5 separate regions of the Homo sapiens genome follow, and regions 1, 2, 3 and 4 are each linked to region 5. Evidence: promoter capture Hi-C in 16 types of primary human blood cells and fetal thymus (Javierre and others, 2016). All regions are on one chromosome and are shown on one strand. The core of a region is centred on a gene start or on the middle of the fragment in contact, and the rest is flanking DNA. Distances in the headings are between cores, read along the strand shown. Region 1 overlaps ME1 (malic enzyme 1). Region 2 overlaps ME1 (malic enzyme 1). Region 3 overlaps ME1 (malic enzyme 1). Region 4 overlaps ME1 (malic enzyme 1). Region 5 holds the start of PRSS35 (serine protease 35).

Region 1 (2,700 bases), core at 19-2,518, 130 kb after region 5:
AATCTGTTTTATTCAGAATCTACTGATTTAAATATTAGTATCATCTAAAAACTACCTTCATGGAAACATTTAGAATGTTTGACCAAACATCTGGGTACTATGCCTAGCTAGGTTGACACATGAAAATAGCCAATACATATTCCTAGACCAATCTTGAGTCTTCTTATCTTAGATTGATTATGTTTTCCAACTCTACTCTGAGTTGCTCAGAGAAGCAGCACTCTTATCATGTAGCTCCTTGGACCTTTCCCTATTGATTAATATGTGTTCTGATTTTCAAAAGGTAAAATGATGTATTATGTTTGTTAATTAAGATTATTTTCTCAAATACTGGAGTGTTTACTTGTGAAGAGTTTCATATATTGCTTTTCAGAGGAGCTTAATTCTAGCAGATATTTCTTAGGAATATTGCTCTACTATGGTTTCACTTTTAAAAGTTCCTAATACTGACTGGATTAATTATAGTAATTTAACATTTAAACCTAATTTTAGAAATTGTCAGATAATATTATTGACCATTCAATTCTTCCGGAAGATTCTTGCTTTTTCTTCCCAACCTTGCCATTTCTTTACAGTCTTTTAAATTATTGACTATGCTTATTATTTCCCTTCTCCTTCCTTCCTTTACCAGAAATTTATTGAGCGTCCACTGCATGCCAGGCACTTTACCAAGCATTGAGAATAGGTAAATAAAGACTTAATTTCTGCATTTGTGGAATTTACAGGTAATATTCAAGTGAACAAAGAAATACATGAGTACTGTTTGTGTTATGAAGGAAATGAACAGAGGACAATGATAAACAATAACAGGGGATTTCCTTTCACAGTATAGTTAGGGAAGTGCCTGTAAGGAGATAGTTTAGGCTGCCGCTTGAAGGATAAGGAAGCAGCTTGTGAAAATCAGGGAAAAAAAAAAGGAAAAAATAAAAACCTTTGAGCCTGAGGGGATAGCTTGTTCAAAAGATCTGGGACTGGGGAGGTGGCATGAGATGAAGTTTGAGGTAGACAGCAGTCTCATGCAGGGTGTGTGGGTCATGATAGAGTTTCATTATAAAGCTTAATCCATTTAAAAAGCCATTGAATATTCAAAGTAGACAGCATCTAACTAAAGTTTTAAAAGATTACTCTGGCTGCCATGTGGATAAAATATTAGAAATGAGAGCTAGAATGGAATGGAAAGGGCACTAAGAAGACTTGCAGTATTGGATCCCTTTCCAATTCTTAATTGCTTTGAATGCACTTGATCCTCTTAAGATATGGAGCAAGGAAATCAAGAAAAGCTGTAAGCTAACAGAGTTGCCAATAGCAGCAACCAGTTCACATGGGAATAATTCCACAGTCTTGTAGTCCTGTACTGATGGCTATAGGTAGGTGAGGTGATAGGGATATGGACACACAGCATGTAGGTATATACACAGACTCTAAATACATCAGCTGGAGATAAGAAGGTCTCCTGTACATAAGACTTTCTCAAGCTTGCAGTAAGCTGAGATTGCACCACTGCACTCCAGCCTGGGCAACAGAGCGAGACTCCGTCTCAAAAAAAAAAAAAAAGAATTTCTTAAGCTTGCAGGCTTAATATAGTTCATTTTATTTATAGCCCAAGTCAATCACCTCACTATCTTGTCCTTTACTCACTGTACAAATCCATCCTGAACCAATCCTTTCTTGCCCTCCCAGAAGAGCCAATTAGATCATGTTCTATGAAGCCAGTAAGTATTGTTCATTTCATTTCTGTGCACCTATTTTTTAATTAAAATATTATTAATGTGGGGGTGGAGTGCTATAATTCTGCCTGCACAGTTCAATTTCGGCTGGGCCTTCTGCTCCTCAGTGTTTCATTCCAGCTGTGTTTTTGGCTCATCTCACTCTTGCAGTTACAAGAATGTAAACACTCTGCAGCCTTATCCTCCTTATCTCAGATATTTCTCTCCATGTTCCCCATGAATTCATTGGTTCAGCTTTTTATTTCCATGAACTATATCTAATACATTTCCTTTCTTCAATTATTTCCTTCTTAATCTGTTCAGCTAACTGCAGTGATCCATTCCACCCACTAAAATGTTGGTTCTTGCCAAGGTTTTATTCTGGGTTCTATTTTCTTTTTATTCTATATATTCTCTTAGTCACATGTAATTGGAGAATTTCCAAGTCAATATTTGTAGCCTAGATTTCTTTTCCTAAGATTATTACTCGTATTTTCAACTACTAAGTAGCTCATCTTAATATGGCAAACAACTACTTCCACTTACCCACTCCCCAGCCTAACATCCCAGGCTCCCAGGTTTTCTAACATTGTAAGGTGCAACATCATTCATTCAGTTACTAAAGCAAACACCTCAGAGATAATCAGGATTTTTTCCCCTTCCTTTCCCTTTTTGAGCATTAGAAATTGTATCCCTTAATTATCTATTGAGTCTCTTTTGTCCTTTCAATCCCCATTGCCACTTTTTTTTAGCTAGGTTCTTCTTGTTTCTTTCCTGGACTACTACTGCATATTTACCCTTGAAGACTGTCAAAAGGGAGTGGATTTTCAAAAAGATATATCTAATTATGTCATTCTCCTGACTAAAATAACTGAATGGCTCCCCATTTCCCCCATGATAAAATTCAAACTCTTTAGCATGATATTCAAGGATTTTTGTAATTTGACTTCTTTGCCTGCTTCTCTGTCATCTCTTTCCTATTCCTCCCACTCAT
Region 2 (2,700 bases), core at 192-2,691, 250 kb after region 5:
TGCCTCGGCCTCCCAAAGTGCTGGGATTACAGGCGTGAGCCACCGCGCCCGGCCTATGCTTTTTCATACTTCACGTTTTGTGCTTCATCTTCCCTAAACCAGACTCCCAACACTTCTTCTTCTCAGATCTTTCCACTGTTTAACTGGAAACCCGCACTTTAACAACAGGCTACCTTACCTCCTCACTTCCTCACTGGATGTTCCCTTTACCTCCTTGCTTTACTGAGAAATGGCTCTCTGAACATAGGAACAGGCAAAGATTTCATGACAAAGATGGCAAAAACAATCACAACAAAAGCAAAAATGTACAAATGGGATCTAATTAAACTAAAAGCTTTTCCACAGCAAAAAAAAAAAAAAAAAAATTACCAACAGAGTAAACAAAGAACCTACAGAATGGGAGAAAATATTTGCAAACTATGGATTTGACAAAGTTCTAGTATCCAGAATTTTAAGGAACTTAAATCTACAAGAAAAAACAACCCCATTAAAAAGTAGGCAAAGAACATGAAGAGACACTTTTCAAAAGAACATGCATACGGCCAATAAGCATATGAAAAAAAGCTCAATATCACTGATCATTAGAGAAATGCAAATCTAAACCATAATGAGATACCATGTCATACCAGTCAGAATGGCTATTATTAAAAAGTCAAAAAATAACAGATCCTGGCAAGGGTGCAGAGCAAAGGAAATGCTTATACATAGCTGGTGGGAGTGTAAATTAGTTCAGCCATTGTGGAAGCAGTATGGAGATTCCTCAAAGAAATAAAAGCAGAAGTACCATTTGACCCAGCAATCCCATTAGTGGATATATACCCAAAAGAATATAAATTATTTTACCACAAAGATGCATGCACACATTTTTTTTGTTTATTGGAGCACTACTCACAATAGCAAAGACATGGAATCAACCTAAATGCCCATCAGTGATACACTGGATAAAGAAAATGTGGTACTGATACACCATGGAATATTATGCAGCCATAAAAAAGAGTGAGATCACATCCTTTGCAGGAACATGGATGGAGCTGGAGAGCTGGAGGCCATTATCCCTAGCAAACTAATGCAAGAACAGAAAACCAAGTACTGTGTGTTCTCACTTATAAGTGGGAGTTAAAATGATGAGAACACTTGAACACAAAGAGGGGCACAACAGACACTGGGGCCTAGTGTCCATGTGTTCTCATCACCACCCCAGAGGGTGGAGGATCAGAAGAGGAAGAGGAGCAGAACAAGTAACTATTGTGTACCAGGCTTAGCATCTAGGTGATAAAATAATCTGTACAACAAACCCCCATAACATGAATTTACCTATAGAACTACCTTGTATATGTACCCCTGAACCTAAAATAAAAGTTTAAAAACAACAACAAAATAATAAAATTAAAATCACAAGGGAAAAAGTTTCATGAATTTTGGAGACAAGGAGGATTTTTTAAATGCTTTTTATTAAAATATACTAAATAGCCACTTTAGTTATAAACCGAACTTCAAAATTTGTTGAATTTTAAGGAACTCAGAATCTCTTAGGTTTGCTATTTTTTTTGAAAAGCAGACAACACCTAAACATAGTGATTCTATTTTGCTTGTGATTCTTTTTTTTTTTGGTCCTTGCTATAAATGTTGTGTGATTTTTTGATTCTATAGATGCTTTTAGAGAAATAAATACTAAATAAAAATGGTTGGAAATACTGTTTTAATTATTTATCTCTCATTCTAAAAGAAAAAAGATTCATAGTATAAAATTTCTTCAAGTCCTTGGTATCATTTTGGAAACAGAGTTGTTTCTTTGAAAGATCAGCAGCAGAGATATAAATTTAGAAGTAATTTGTGTAAAACATGATTGTCAATTCCTTAAGAAGACAAGAAACTTGAGGGGATGAGAATATGGGGGAAAAGAATGGATGATTATGGCTGAATCTTCATCATTTCTACTGTCACAAAGAATAATTAAGAGGTAACAGTAAAATATAATAAAAGGAGTGGTAAGAGAAATGAAAGGACTGTCTAAATGTTACAAAATAATATGGAAGTAAAGTAGTAGGAGCAAAAGCCATATTGCTATGAAAGAAGTTAACACATCCATCTTCTTCGTTGTTACCTACAAAGAAGAATTGAATTTGAATGGTTCTTGGCCAGAGATAATTTGTGTCAACTTCGGATTACTTATTCTAGCATTCAAGACCATTCATCATCTGAAATTCAGCAACCAATACTGATCTTCTAAAGTCCTTGAAGCTAATATTTGTCATCTCCCCAGTACAAACTTTGAGACCTCTATTCTATCATTGGTTCTTTACTCCACTCTTTTCCTTATTTGAGTTCTACCAAGGGCCCATCTTAAGTCTCACCTAATTCATGTTGTTTTCCCTCAGTCCTTTAGTGATCAGTGTGCCACTGCTTTTGCTTTTAATCTGAACCTCCTTTAAGTTATTTGCTTACATCCTTTTGTCTTCCCAATGAGACTATTTTCCCAGTGAGCATTTCCAGGGCAAGATCCATGTTTCTTATTTGCTGCTTAATTCATTGAGCACTCTCAAGCTTCAATACATTATAAAAAATGGGTAATTTGGAATAAGTTATCCCTAAGGTACTCATCAGAGCTAAAGTGCACTAGATCTTGAATGTTCCATATGTAATAAATCCTATAAAAACATTTTACTATATCTCAGGAAAAATTAAAACATGCTTGGTTAA
Region 3 (2,700 bases), core at 180-2,679, 230 kb after region 5:
GATGAGCCCATCAAAGCCAGTCTTTATTTCTGGTACTGTTACTTTGACTTCTATCATTACCTTTCGATTCTTAGAGTTTCTATTGCTCTGCTTAGATCACTTAGCATATTAATCATAGTTATTTCAAATTCCCAGTCTGTTTATTCCAAAATTTCCACTATATCTGAATCTCATTCTGATGCTTGCTTTGTGTTTTCCGACTATATTTCTTGCCTTTTAGGATGCCTTGTAATTTTGTTGACAATTAGACCTGCTATATGGGGTAAAAGGAACTTAGGGAGATATGCCTTTAATATGCTGGGTTTTGTTTATCTGGCTAGGAGTTAAGCTGTGTTTGATGTTTGCTGTAGCTGTAGTATTAGAGGCTAAAAGTTCTTCAGTGTCATTGTTTTTGTCTAACCTCTTGTCTTTGGATTTTTCCAGCGTCTCCTTAAATAGACTTTGAGGCTAGAATTTGTTTTAGCTGTAATCTGCTGTTATTATACCAGAGCCCTGTTGGGGCAGTGATAGGGTTGGGGGGGAAGGGGTTGTTTACTATAGTCCTATGATTGGCTGTCAGTTTTTTAGTGAGCCTGAGTTTTGAGTATTTTCTTTCCTCCATTTGAAAGCCCAGGGAGGACTGTAGTTGGATATTTCCCTTCCCCCAGTTTAGGTAGGCTTTGGTGAACCCCATTAAGTTAGGATCTGGTAAAATAGTTTCTCTTGAGGGTAAGTCCTATTAAGAAGAACAGAATGCTCTGGCATTTTAAAAAATGATAAATAGGCTTGGCATAGTGGCTCATGCCTGTAATTCTGGTGCTTTTGGAGGCTGAGGTGGGAGGATTGCCTGAGCCCAGGAGTTCAAGACCAGCCTGGGCAATGTAGGAGGACCCTCATATCTACAAGAAATTAAAAAAAAAAAGACTCTAGTCAGGCACCAGGCGTGGTGGCAAGCATCCATAATCACAGTTAGTTGAGAGGCTGAGACAGGAGGATCACTTGAGCCCAGGAGTTCTAGGTTACAGTGAGCTATGACTGTGCCCCTGCACTCTAGCCTGGGCGACAGAGCAAGAGCTCCTCTCTAAAAATAAAATAAACAATCAAATTTTTTAAATGGTTACTATTCTCTCCCCGCTTGCTGGAAGCACAAGGGGGACTTTTCCTCAAATCTTCAGTCAAAACCTAATGAAGCTCCTGGAGATAAAACTTATGAAAGTGTGGAGGCCCCCATAAGACTGGACCTCCTAGTAGTTTTTAATTTGCAAGTTAGTATACACTGAGTCTCCAGCAATTCATTAATTACAGTTTAAAGCTTTGCTGCTGATACTGGCTCTTGCTGCACGGTTCTGCTCCTGGGCTTCTACTCAAAGCCATGATTCTCTGTATTTGCCTGTCTTTCTAGTTTTGGGGGCAACCTAATGCATCATGATGGATTGAGTTGTTAACGTGTAGTTTGTTCAGCATTTTTCTTGTGAGATGGGAGTAACAGTTTCCAAGCTCTTTACATGTAAGAACCAGAAACTCTGACCCTAGATTCAGAATTCTAGGGTTCAAATGGCAGGAGGTCCAAGAAGATAAGCAAGCTTTCTGGCACACTGTGTTGAATTCCAAATATTATTATTATTATTATTATTATTATTTTGAGATACAGTCTCACTATCGCCCAAGCTGGAGTGCAATGGTGCGATCTCAGCTCACTGCAACCTCTACCTCCCAGGTTCAAGCGATTCTCCTGCCTCAGCCTCCCGTGTAGCTGCGATTACAGCCATGTGCCACCACGCTAGGATAATTTTTGTATTTTTGGTAGTGACGGGGTTTCACCATGTTGGCCAGGCTGGCCTCGAACTCCTGACCTCAAGTGATCTGCCTGCCTCAGCCTCCCAAAGTGCTGGGATTACAGGCGTAAACCACCACACCTGGCCCCAAATCTTATTTTTGTTCTTAGTTTTAGTTTGATAATCTAAGATATAGATTAGAATGTACTGTATGAATCCTTTCCCCATGTTTTGTTACCTTAAATAATATGGTATTCTAACTATTCTGCCATAATCCTGAGTCTCGTCTTCCTTGGCCTGTGGCTGTCCATGACACAGAGCCAACATACTTGTAGTGGACATTGGTTTTCAGTTGTGTTTTCTGCTAATGTAGAGTTACTGGTTAGTTCTAATTAAACTGGGGGTGCTGAGGCTAGGCCTGCTGAGGAATTTATACCCAGATTCAAAAGGCATTGAGTTTCATGTTATAAAAGAAGTTGTGTAGTTAAGGAGTCAGCATTACACAACTTATAGACAGTGAATATGAGAATGTAAATATTCTCTTTATAAAAGACAATATAATGGATATGTAAGTACCCAGGCTTGTTTTGTTTGGTTCACAAAATATATTAAAAGTTTTATTTAAGAGAATGTTTATTGCTGTTTTTTCTTCTAAAGAAATGCCATCTTATACATTCATCAATTGTTAAATATTTCTTTGAGGTGGGATGCAGTTTACTTCAATACAGATGGCTGTCTGTCTTAAGACAATATGCTAAAATTCAGTTTTAAAATCTTAACCACTTAACAGTTTATTGCAGAGCTAGGGAACTGTAGTGTAGCATATAAGTTATTTGTCTCTTTCTTATAACAATTTGTTATCAGTGACAGAACTTTTTGTAAGTAAATCAGTGATAATTCTAAGTGACCAGGGAAGCTGAAACTGTGATTATTAGGTTATCTTAAT
Region 4 (2,700 bases), core at 87-2,586, 210 kb after region 5:
CACATATAATAAATTAGAAAATAAGAATGATACATCCGCTCATTGGTAACATAAAAAAAGAAGATTCAATATGATTTCCTGAGTTATAGATCAACCTAAAAACAAAACAAAAAACACTATCAATAGCAATATCTTGTAGGTTAAAATAAGGTCTTTTGTTTATAATATTTTTTCTTGCCATCCTTAATTTACGTGTGTTTATAGACAAAGGTAAAGCAGGTATGAACATGTGAAAGCAATTTACTTTTCCTTTTGAAAGACCATCTATGTGGCTGGTTTGGGGAAATCTTATAACAATATTAGAATGAAGTACATATATTTTAATTATTAGAGATTAAAGATGCGGAAAGGAAAAGAATAATTAAAGAGGCAAACTTAGAAAATTGATTTGGGGGTAAGGTCAGAAATTAAGGGTACTTTTTTGGTTCTGTAGGAAATTGAAACCCTAATTGCAACTAATATCGTATCTGGACCTAACATTAGTATTGACAGTCAGTGCATTTCAGTTAATGAAAGCCAAAGTCCTTATAATGGCCCTCAAGCCCTGATGTGGCCCCCTTCCTGACCTCTATGATGTGCTCACTCTCCTGCACCCACATTCTCCACGCTGCCTGTACTGTCATTGAACTCTCAAGGCATGTTCCTTAGAATATTTTCACTTGCTTTTCCCTCTGTCTAAAATATTCTTCTCCCAGAAATGTGTTTGGTTAAAAACTTAATCTTTTTCATATATTAGCTCAAATCTTAACCTTCTTTTGAGGTTTACCCTGACTACCCTATGTAATACTGAAACCTGTCCCATCTTCTCCCCACCCTGGCTCTCCTGATCACCCTTGTTTTGCTCTACTTTTCCTTTTTTAAAATACCACTTATTACCATTATTCATTTATTATGTTTATGCTTATTGTGTGTTTCTTCCACTAGAAGATATGCTGTCAAGGACAGGGATCTACTTTGTTCATTTTATGAACAAGTTCCTTCCTGTATCAATGCTTGGCACAGAGTAGATAAACAATAAATATTTGTTGAACTCAATTGAGATACTTAAAGGGAGGCCACACAAGACAATGTGAGTGGTTTTGCAGAAATCTTTCACCATTACTAGAAAATTATTTCATTTAAACATGTCTTATTTTTATTGAATTACTAGCATCATTTTTATATGGAAAGGAGAGCCATCAGCACATGGTAAGTAATGAATACCCGATTGTCTCAGGTCCCAGAAGCAGATTATCCCTCAAGGAATTAGAGGTTAGTTCTAAAGTTAGCATGTTACATAGAGTAATCTAACGACATTTAATGCAAGTTGGTAGTAAATATTGTTTGAGCTGACATATGTCAAAGTCTCATTATTTAAAGCTACAACAAAATTTGTATAAAATTTGCCATAATCAAAATGTAAGAACAAAATAATCATTCCTGTTGCCAAGATGATCACATTCTGGCTAACTCAATTTTCCATGATTTGACTGTTACTTTTATTTCACTAACTATAAAGCAAGCCAGAATTAACACAGTGTGCCATGTTTTTTATTTTACCAATATGTAGTGATTAATTCTCAAGAGTGTTTTTCTTTGTGGTATCCACAGATGGTGACCCACTTTTTTCATATCCTCATGAAAATAATATCATATTCTGTATATACATGGTAAAAATGCCACATTTGTGAATAGAAAACAAAATAAGCTATTGTTAAAGTTTTGTTGACCAATATTGTTAGATTGAGATGTGTCGAAATTTAGATGGAAAGAAAGGCTCATCCTACTGAGCACAGGTTGGAATGGTGCTGCCTGGGACAGGTTTGCAGTCCATTTCTTCAGAGGTGTCATAGAATGACATTTCTTAATTCAGTTAATTTACCATGGTTTGGAGCCTGACTCTCAGCTCAGGAAGTTTAGAAATCTAATTTTGACAGCTTGCAAAGCTCATATCTCAGGTACATGTGATAAGTAAAACTTGCACTTTGGAGTCAATCCTCAGCTCCACCAACTACTACATTTGTAACCTTGGAAAAATTACTTACCTTCCTCAAGGCTTAATTTTCTTGCCTGTAAATTGGGGTAAAATGCTAATAGTACCTTCAGTAGTACCTTCAGACAGTTGTTATGATGATTGAGAGAAAACATATAAAACAAATTACTTTTATCAAGTGCTATAAATAGTAACTATAATTTTTATTTTTCAGGAAGGATTACTAGGACCATAATTTAGTTAAAAGATGTAGGCTGGCAAATTTGGCTTAATATTAAATAGAGCATTTAATAGTTGGAATTGTCCCCAAAGAAAATAATGTATATAAAAGTACTTGCACATAAAAATTACTCAGAGGTTGTTATTCCTTATTGTTTCTGTTGTTAATATTATTTGTGAACTCTCCATCACTCTGAGAACATGGACAGATGTGCTTAAAGATATAAAGATTTCTACTTTTATGTGAGATGATGGATTAGAATTAAATGTTTCTAAAGTGTTCCAACTTTAGGATTCTATGAAAGTGGTAAAAAAAAAATCGTATTTTGTTTCAACATTCAGGACTGGTTGTTTCATAAAATTCAGTGATTCAGCCATGCTTGTGATCATTATGAGTCAGTTGAAATTGATCATCACAATATATTTGACCCAGAGGAATAAACTTCTCATTCAACATTGTAAATTATTTTGTTTTGCATAACAAAACAACTTTAATAAACTTCAGTAAG
Region 5 (2,700 bases), core at 39-2,538:
CATACTGTATGCCAAGTATATGCTAAACAGTCTCACATTTTAAAACGTGAAAAAGCTTCTTAAAAGCATGCAGTTTTCCCAGCTATCTGGAAGAAAAATGGGGTACAGTATCCACATCTACCACTTCCCTCACTAAAGGAACTCCTCTAATATTTCCTAATAAAAATAAAATTCCATATGATACTTGGCCTCTACCTTCAAGCCTACATGTCTTATTTGGCAGGGATTTTAACATTCTCTCTTCTAAATTATAAACCAGATTCTAAGTATAATTCTCCAGCCAGCAAAATATGACTTTTATAATCCTCTGTGGAGACAAATGTACTTCGGATAAAATAAGAATGAATTTCAGAAGTCAGAAGGGTTAATAAGGGGTGAAAGCCCCCTAGACACAGCAAGCAGCTTCTTTTCAAATCAAGGACAGTGTAAAAATGTCAGAGCAATCAAGCGGGAGTGTTTCTACAACTTTTTAAAAAACCTTTTATTATAGAAAATTTCAAGACTACACAAAAGCACAGAGAAAAGTATTAAGTTGAGAGAAAAGTACAACCCCCATGTGCACATCACCAGCTTCAACTATTGTCAATATTTTGCCAATGTTTCATCCACCATCACCACCCCACACACTTTTTTTTTTCAGCTAGAGTATTTCAAAGCAAGTCAAAAGCTTTTCTACTTCATTTCGCCGCCTCATTTTCTAAACGTTTTCCTATGCTCCTTTTGCTGACCTCCGCAGCCAAGTTGATAAAAGGGTAGAGGGGAGAGGCTAGCTTTCATAGTAACCCCGCCAAAGAGACTTTTCAGGAATGCGTTTCATACCTTTCTCAATGGCATCTGTTAACAATCATAAAAATAAAGAGGGTCCCCTCTGGTACTGCTTAAGCAGAAAGAATTCCATTTATATTCCAATGCAAACATTGTTGTCGTTAATATTAAACTGTGCAGAGGCCGGCACACAGAATTGCCTATGGGAAGGGTGGTTAGTTTCTTTGAGGACTGAAAGAAAGTGTCAAGTTTGATCCCTTTCTTCAAAGTCCTTCAAAGAAGCTCTCCTCGGGTAGGTCCTGCCTTTCTCAGGGAAATTTCTAAGTTCTAAGGTTGTTGGGTTTGGGGAGCTTCATCTTTACCTGCCAGGCTTGTTTGGTCCCCGAGGGCACTGTCAGCTGAGATCAGAGCTCCCGAGGAGGCGGGCGGGGACGCTGCAGCTGGGAGCCTCTCAGCCAGCCTGAGCCGGAGGCCGCCCCGCCAAGGCCGGGCCACAGCACCCAGAGCTCGCCACTGAGACTGCGGAGGGGGAGAGAGCTGCGCCGCACCACGGCCGGGAGATGGGAGGGGAAAGGGGGCGATGACGAGGGGCGGGCGCGGTGGGATGGAGTGGGGGGAGGGGAGGAGGAGGAGGTGGGCAAGAGGAGACGGAGAGGGAGGGCGGAGAGGGGAGTTCCCTGGAGGAACGGGGCGGACCTGGCCGTGTCTCACCCCAGCATTTCTGCCCCCAAGCTGAATTAAGCATTAGGAAAAATTCATGAGTAGGTTCACAGGGGATGCCTGTCCCTGTAATAGTATGCACTCCTTTAACAGTCTCAGGAGTTGTTCAGTTAAGAGTCTCATTCCTCACTGCTTGCTGTTGAGACCCCAGGCATCTAGAAGAACGGAGGGCGTCTCCCCAACCTTATCCCAAGCTAGTCTCCACCGGGGACCTAGCTTCTCTGGATGCACAAGCCTCAGGGTTACCCCGACTTGTACCAGGCGCCCAGGCTGCACACGAGGATGGGGACCTCAGGCTGGGACGCCTGGACCCCCGGGAGCATCCTGCGCTGCCTCCAGGGGGAGCGCGTCAGTTTCCGTCTGCAGGGAAAAGGCTGGTTTTCCTCTTTGGGCGAGTAACCTTTAAGGTCCTTTCCCATCTCAGTCCCACCAGCATTCTAACCTCATCCGTTCTCTCGACCTTTTATTCTCCTTTAGGAGAGGGGTGGGGGCCACATGAGAAAGGAAGCTTCATTTGTTTAACAACAAATTCTAGTGGGTGACAGGTCTGGGGCAAGATGAACTGATACAACGAGAGAATACATAAACAAAAACAAAAACAAAAACAAAAAAACTCGGTCCTGGCCCTAAAGCAGGGAGATCGAGTAAGTGCACAAGTACTTACAACACAAGGTCTTAGCATGTCTTGTAACACTTGGTTCGTTAGTAGGTTATTGCGTATCTCAAGTTCTGTGTACTTTTAATGAGATTATAACATACTTAGCATTGTCCCTCGTTATACTCAACGGACTAGTTCCAGGCCCTCTTCCCCTCCGCCCCCCCATACTAAAATCATCCCATATTCAAGTCCAAGTCCAGCTGTGGGCCCTGGGGAACCCGCGTATAGGAAAAGTCTGCCCTCTGTTTAAGCATTTCTGCCTGAAAATACTGTTTTCTATCCGCTTTTGGGTGAAAAAAAAAATCTGTGTATAAGTGGACCTGTGCAGTTCAAATATGTGTCCAAGGGCCAACTATATATACAATTTCATTGCTGTTTTCTCATTTAGCATTGTTAACATAAGCATTTACCCATATATTAAAATCTATTGGTAATTTTTACCAGTTAGAATTAGTTCTGAAGCTCTCTGTCACCAATTAGATCATAATAGTCATATGCATCTTTGAATCACCACCATCTACCACAGGGCCTGGCATATAGTAGCTGCTGCATTAGAC

Evidence for each region. Contacts are between HindIII fragments. The CHiCAGO score rates a contact against its expected background, and 5 or more counts as called.
Region 1: a contact is called between a fragment that was not itself captured here and the fragment with the promoter of PRSS35 in region 5, in 1 of 17 cell types (M1 macrophages). The highest score is 5.1, in M1 macrophages.
Region 2: a contact is called between a fragment that was not itself captured here and the fragment with the promoter of PRSS35 in region 5, in 1 of 17 cell types (megakaryocytes). The highest score is 5.6, in megakaryocytes.
Region 3: a contact is called between a fragment that was not itself captured here and the fragment with the promoter of PRSS35 in region 5, in 2 of 17 cell types (megakaryocytes and M1 macrophages). The highest score is 7.9, in megakaryocytes.
Region 4: a contact is called between a fragment that was not itself captured here and the fragment with the promoter of PRSS35 in region 5, in 3 of 17 cell types (M2 macrophages, megakaryocytes and M1 macrophages). The highest score is 7.9, in M2 macrophages.

Annotation. Positions count from the first base shown.
Region 1 is chr6:83,380,253-83,382,952 of GRCh38, reverse strand. All of the region lies in intron 3 of ME1 (malic enzyme 1), which reads left to right. Among named protein-coding and RNA genes, the nearest start is that of ME1, 49 kb to the left of the region's middle. The HindIII fragment of the contact is 419 bases long and covers 1,059-1,477 here.
Region 2 is chr6:83,259,086-83,261,785 of GRCh38, reverse strand. All of the region lies in intron 6 of ME1 (malic enzyme 1), which reads left to right. Among named protein-coding and RNA genes, the nearest start is that of RWDD2A, 67 kb to the right of the region's middle. The HindIII fragment of the contact is 2,210 bases long and covers 337-2,546 here.
Region 3 is chr6:83,276,821-83,279,520 of GRCh38, reverse strand. All of the region lies in intron 6 of ME1 (malic enzyme 1), which reads left to right. Among named protein-coding and RNA genes, the nearest start is that of RWDD2A, 85 kb to the right of the region's middle. The HindIII fragment of the contact is 271 bases long and covers 1,294-1,564 here.
Region 4 is chr6:83,303,504-83,306,203 of GRCh38, reverse strand. All of the region lies in intron 6 of ME1 (malic enzyme 1), which reads left to right. Among named protein-coding and RNA genes, the nearest start is that of RWDD2A, 110 kb to the right of the region's middle. The HindIII fragment of the contact is 2,733 bases long and covers 1-2,700 here.
Region 5 is chr6:83,511,122-83,513,821 of GRCh38, reverse strand. PRSS35 (serine protease 35) reads right to left here and starts at 1,288. Exons shown (of 2, transcript NM_153362.3): 1 at 1,128-1,288. The HindIII fragment of the contact is 1,326 bases long and covers 670-1,995 here.